2 separate regions of the Homo sapiens genome follow, and region 2 is linked to region 1. The links are contacts of gene promoters, found by promoter capture Hi-C in blood cells and fetal thymus (Javierre and others, 2016). All regions are on one chromosome and are shown on one strand. Each heading gives the region's core, a stretch centred on a gene start or on the middle of the fragment in contact. The rest is flanking DNA. Distances are from core to core; before and after follow the strand shown. Region 1 holds the start of FGF23 (fibroblast growth factor 23). Region 2 overlaps PARP11-AS1 (PARP11 antisense RNA 1).

What was found. Contacts are between HindIII fragments. The CHiCAGO score rates a contact against its expected background, and 5 or more counts as called.
Region 2: a contact is called between a fragment that was not itself captured here and the fragment with the promoter of FGF23 in region 1, in 1 of 17 cell types (endothelial precursors). The highest score is 5.6, in endothelial precursors.

Annotation. Positions count from the first base shown.
Region 1 is chr12:4,378,140-4,381,082 of GRCh38, forward strand. It overlaps FGF23 (fibroblast growth factor 23), which reads right to left and starts at 1,573. Exons shown (of 3, transcript NM_020638.3): 1 at 1,233-1,573. The coding sequence starts at 1,443. The HindIII fragment of the contact is 6,643 bases long and covers 1-2,724 here.
Region 2 is chr12:3,895,342-3,898,283 of GRCh38, forward strand. The region is part of intron 1 of PARP11-AS1 (PARP11 antisense RNA 1); the gene reads left to right. Among named protein-coding and RNA genes, the nearest start is that of PARP11, 23 kb to the left of the region's middle. The HindIII fragment of the contact is 880 bases long and covers 1,031-1,910 here.

The sequences.
Region 1 (2,943 bases), core at 323-2,822:
CAATTTCGCATGTTATATATCTTGCAACTTAATTTTGCATGTTGTATATCTTGCAACCAGGTTTAAGGACCTTTGGAGCCTAGAAGAATAAATGCCTCACACACAGCAAGGTCACAGCAAAAATAATTAATTTATTTATTACAACAATAAAGGGCAAATCATAATTCCTATGTTTTCTTTAGTTAGAGATTGTCTAACTAATTTTTCTTTCCTTTAATTTGAGCTATATTGGATCAGTTTGCATTTTTCTGTATGCTTTGAGGTGTTTTCTCACGTTTTCTTAAAATAGAAGATCCAGTCTTTTTCAATATCTATCCCTGCTTTCACCACATTACCCCTTATATAGGTGCACACAAAGGGACCCTCATTTGAATCATTGCTAATGGATTGATTATTGTGGATTGTGATCCAATTCTCCACAAACCTGATCTTTAAAAACATTCCAGTTGTCTCATGTTGCCAATAAGTTTCTAACTAGCTTGACTTGCTACTGACTGGACACCTTTCAGTTCCACAGAGAAGAATCACCAACTCATACTGGGTACCTGGGTACCTGGGTGTCTGAAACACCCATTAAACCTGTTGGATGGATGGATGGATGGATGGATGGATGGATGGATGGATGGATGGATGGATGCATGGACAAATGAATGGGTGGATGGGTTGTATACTTGGCCATTCTCACCAAGACAACATACATGGACAGTCTGTCTTTAATACATTTTTCCAAGAATTTTTATAAGGCCAGAGTTGGAAAGAGCCCCCAGATTTATCTATAACAATCTGGGTATGACCCAGGAATCTTTACAACCTCCCTAGTTAACCCAGTCCAAAGTCCATGAGCTGAAACTTAGTGTCTGTTGATCTGCCTGGCTTCTTTTTCTCTTAGACTCCTTGCCTTTCTTTCTGTACATTTTTTCAATCTTTTGACGGGGCAAAGGGAACATGGCTCCTACTGTGGGAAGGGTTTTAGTTGAAATAAAAATTATTCATATTGAGAAAAACCAGCAAATGCTAATTAGGAGAGTGACAGAATCTTCCCCTAAGTTTTAAATACACACGCACACACACACACACACAAACACACACACACACAAAGACAATAAGTGGTTCCTGGGCAGAAAGCTAGGAGGGTTGGATTAGCCCTCCAGTCTAGTCCCCAACCTCCCCAAGCCTCCTGTAGATGGACAACAAGGGTGCTCCCCTTCTTCCCAGCCTGAAGCCCTACTCACTGTAGATGGTCTGATGGGGTGCGCCATCCACATGGCCATTCTTGTGGATCTGCAGGTGGTAGCTGTTCCTGGCTGTGGCTGTGTACAGGTGGATCAGGCCACCCCAGCTGGAGCCGAGCAGTGGGGAGGCATTGGGATAGGCTCTGAGGACGCTCATGCTGCAGACGCTGCACAAGGCACAGACCCAGAGCCTGAGGCGGGCCCCCAACATCGTGCCCTGCTCTGAGTGGCTGGTGCTGAGATTGAAACCTGACACTCCTGTCGGGACTCTCCTGGCCCAGGCCTTACTGGCCTTTTCCTTCTCCCTTGCAAGTAGCTGGTGTGAGGATCCTAGACTGGATTCCCTCCTTTTTGCCGTCAGACTTTTAAAGGGTAGCAGTGTGACATCAAACAGGAAAAACTCCACTGTCCACATCCTCTGTGTTGTAATCAGCCCATTGAAAGAAAGTGCAAAGACCCCGGAGGCGCACGGAAGGCACGTCGGTTCCAGACACACACACCCCTCAATTTCAAGCCAACGCTCCAAAAAATGAATGACGTGTGGGCAAAAGTTATCTGCCACTCTGGGCTGTCTGTTGACCTGTCCCACTTCCATCAGGAAATGTGAAGGCAGCCAGCGGTTCCCAAAAAAAATCCAGCTTCAGTCAAGCAGTCAACCGACTCCTAGGCAATTAATCTCCTGTCGAGTTTACTTATTTTGGTTTTCTTTAAATTCCAATCAGCAAGTATGTATCCAGTGCTTAATCTGTGAGCAGGATTTGGTGGGTAGCTTGCAGGATATAGAGATACATGACACCATCAGGCAGATGGCATCCTCTAAGAACACCCACTTCATGAAAGATGGGAGCTAGGAGCAGGGGCACAAAAGCCAAAGTTGCCATTTTGGGAAGATTTTGAAATGGAAGAAAAAGAAGTAAGGCCTTGAGGTCAGTGAACATGCCAAGGTTCAGTTTCTCAGCTTCCTTAGTCTGGACTTCACTGAATATGCCAAGGTTCAATTTCTCAATTTCCCTAGTTTGGACTATCGAGGGCAACTAAACTAGTAGTCTCTCCAGTAGTAAGGAGACTCATTCAGAGACCTCATGGGGATTGGAACAGCTGCTGGCTGAGCACTGGGGATCCGAGCCTCAGGACAGGGTGTCCCCACATTTAGTGTCTGTACATGAGTGCTCAGCTTGGTGTTGGATGCCTGCCTGCAGATGCTGTTCACAGTGAGCCCTCTGGGAAGCTACACCTGATGTCGGGTGGAATAGTCCTGGCACATACAGTCTAAAGGGGAGCAAGCTACTGGAACACACACCCGAAAAAACACACAAGGAGTTTGCTATTCTTCCAGTTTCCCTGTACTGAGTATATGCCATGTACAGGCATCAAGCTAGACTCATGTACAGGTTGATATAGGAGACAGCAAGATGTGATTCCTATCTTGAGGAGCTCAAATCTAATGCAGGAGGCAGATAAAAATAAGTAACTATAATACAAAATGAGTGCAAGCTTACAGGTATAGACAGAAAGAGATGGCATTTGTTACCCTACATTTGTACAGTTTTTTTTTATAGTTTACAAAGCATTTTCACATCTATTAGCTTATTTGAACCTCACTGCCACTCTGTGAGATAGGCACTCCATGCATTATCAAGATTTTAATACTTTACATGAAGAAATGGAAATCTTAGTGTTTCCATGTCCAAAGGCACAAAGCAAATAAATG
Region 2 (2,942 bases), core at 221-2,720, 480 kb before region 1:
TGAATGAATGGATGGATCTCTCCCTTCAAAATGATATTCAGATTCCCTCTATAGTCTTCATTCTAACTACCAGCCCCCATTCTGGACTTACCCCTTGAGGTCTGTGTTTCTGTGATGTTCTATGCACTGGGTATCCCTCTAACACCAGAACCAAGATGAAAAAACAGATTTCCTGATCCTCAGCCTAGGTTCTGTCCACTCTATGATCTACGACGTGCATATTTTCAATGGTCTGTTAGTGGTGTCTAACCACGAAGGCAGGCTTAGCCAGACATTCTGATCGTGCCCAAGAGTCCTATTTAGAAGGTCATATGAACAGGCTCTCTTGCCCATACATACAGGCTTTAAAAAGTTGAATGATGTTCTTGTTAGACTCTGTGGTTTAAGAAACACAGTGCAAAAGGGAGTCCATTATTGGGAATGGAGGATCCTGGGACAAGCTGAGTGAAACAAGCACACTCTTTTTCGGAACCTCTTAAGATTCTGGGAGGCCCTTTCCAGGGGAATAATAAGGCCGAATTGAGTGCAAGAGACATATCTTTGATTTTCATAACCTTTGCTCCCTTCTTTTCCATATGGCAGAAGGCTTTCTCTCAGAAACCAGGAAAAACAATGGAGTATCAGCATAGCCTAAGGCAGTGCAAACTCAAACATCTAACAGGACCAAGCGGGGAATATAAATGAGGGGGAAGGTGGGGATTGGGGCAACCTGGAGAGGGCAGATCGCCACTACTCCACTTGGCCAATGGTTTCCATGGGGGAAATGTAGGGCCAGAGGTTCTCAAAAGTAGCTAGGATTCTAGAAGTGAACGTAAAATCTCCTAAGTTATAAATGTCGGCAATAAATCTAAACATTTTTTTAAATGCCATAGGGTCCAAAAAACACATCTTTGGGTGGAATGGTTTTGTGAGCTGCTTACCTATACCCGTAATGTAGGAAAAAGCACATGAGCAGTCCAATCACACTGCCTGAGTTTGACCCTTGGTTCTACCCACTGGTTTACAAAGTTACTCTAAGTCACTTAACTTAAGCTTCATTTTTCTCCATCTCTAAATCAGGACAGTGCTTCCAGGACTGACATGAAGATTAAATGAAAGAACGTAGTTGCTACTCAATATTAATTGTCCTTGTTTTTTGGATCTCTGCTCCCTCCCTTTTTTCTCATTGCACAATGAACTAGAAAAAACAGTTCCTCCACATTCTTATTTAAAGCAAACTAAGCAACGCTTTTTATCATTTGTCAGATTTTTTTTTACCATGATGAGCCTAAATACACTGTACTGGTTTCTAATCAGACCTCATTTGCAGCTGTGATTTTTGTGGTGGTTGTTGTTGTTGTACTATTTTGTTTTGTTTTGTTGTTTTGTTTTCAAAGAATGAGAGGACAGAAGAAGCATTAAAGCAACATTCTTTCCAAAATTAAATTCTGGCAATACAGTCTCCAGTGATCCTGACTAGGAAGCAAAGGGAAGACCCCGAGCCAGCAGGGGAAGCCCTCCAGCACTCTCAGGTTTTCAAAGAGCCTTTACAAAAGCACTAAGCAGGGCACATCACCGGAGAAGAAAAGCAAAGAGTGTCACAGGCTTGTAGCCATAGTGTTAGCAAGGCTGGGGCTCAGAATGAGCTGAGACTTGCAAAAAATGCTCAGGAACAGCAAAAAGAGCTTTGTGCAAGTATATTCTGAGCAGGAAGAATAGGGAAGGGCCAGATCCTGTGCTTGGGGCAGATGGTGTAATGCTAGCAGATGACAGATACAAAGCAGAATTATGCAACTCCTACTTAGCTTCCATCATCTCTATCTCTCAGAATGATCTTCAAACTGGAAAGAACAATATAAACACTGCAAAGAAGCAATTGCAGCCCTAGTTATGAAGCTCTTTAGAAAATGAATACCTGGGCTCTCTAAATAAGCTTAGATCTCCAGGCCCTGACAAATTCCATCCCTGGGGACTGAAAGAATTTGTAGATTTAATCATAGAATGATTGTCAGTAATCTTTCAGGAATCTCAGGAGTGATGCCAGAAGATTAGTGATGGGCAACTGTCCGAGTTGTCAAAAGGGGAAATATGTAGGTTTGGGGAACTTTGCACTGTTGAGTTTAACTTTGATCCCCAGCAAACTGTAAGCTGCATTATTAAGGAGTTAGATTACAATCGCTTTGAAAAGGAAGTGGTAATCTCAAGAAGCCAGCACAGGTTATGTAGAACAAACCATGTCATACTAACATCACTTCACATTTTTTTCTTTTTTGAAAGATTACCAAAACTCTCAAGATTGTCCCAGAGGTAGTGAATCTTTCAACAGGGCTTCCGACAACACATTTTATGGTACAATGAATGGATAGGGCCTGGGTGATCTATGGCTTGGTGAAGGCACAGCTAGGCAAACCATTGTATCCAAAAAGCACTGGACAGGCGGGGCCAAGTCAACTCAGAGAGAGGTGTAGCACAAGATGCCGCTAGTCCTTGTTTGGTGCCCGGTTCTGTGAAAATCCTTTCAATGACATGAAAGAGATGCCAACATATAAATATGAGTTGACACAAAATGAAGAAGTCTAAGTAATATGCCGCATGACAGAAACAGGATATGGTGGTTTGCCTGAACAAGGAGCCAAAATAAGCATGATGGAATTTAATGGAGAAAATGCAAGTTCTTCATATTGATTAAAAAAAAAAAAACTCAGTTATTCAAATTATTGACAATAGTTAATGGGAAAAAGTCTTGAAGATTGTAGTTAACAAAAAGCCCAACATGAGCCAAAAAATTCTGACATGGCTACAAAACAACTAGTGTTTGCCAGGTAGCATAAGGGGAATTGTAACAGGCAGAGCAAGGGTGATGAGGGTGCCATTGGCCCATCTGCCTCAGAGCATGAGGGCTTATTCCTGGTACCATGTTTCTTCTTCACATTCAACTTTGTGGTCTTTGTATTTTGTAAATC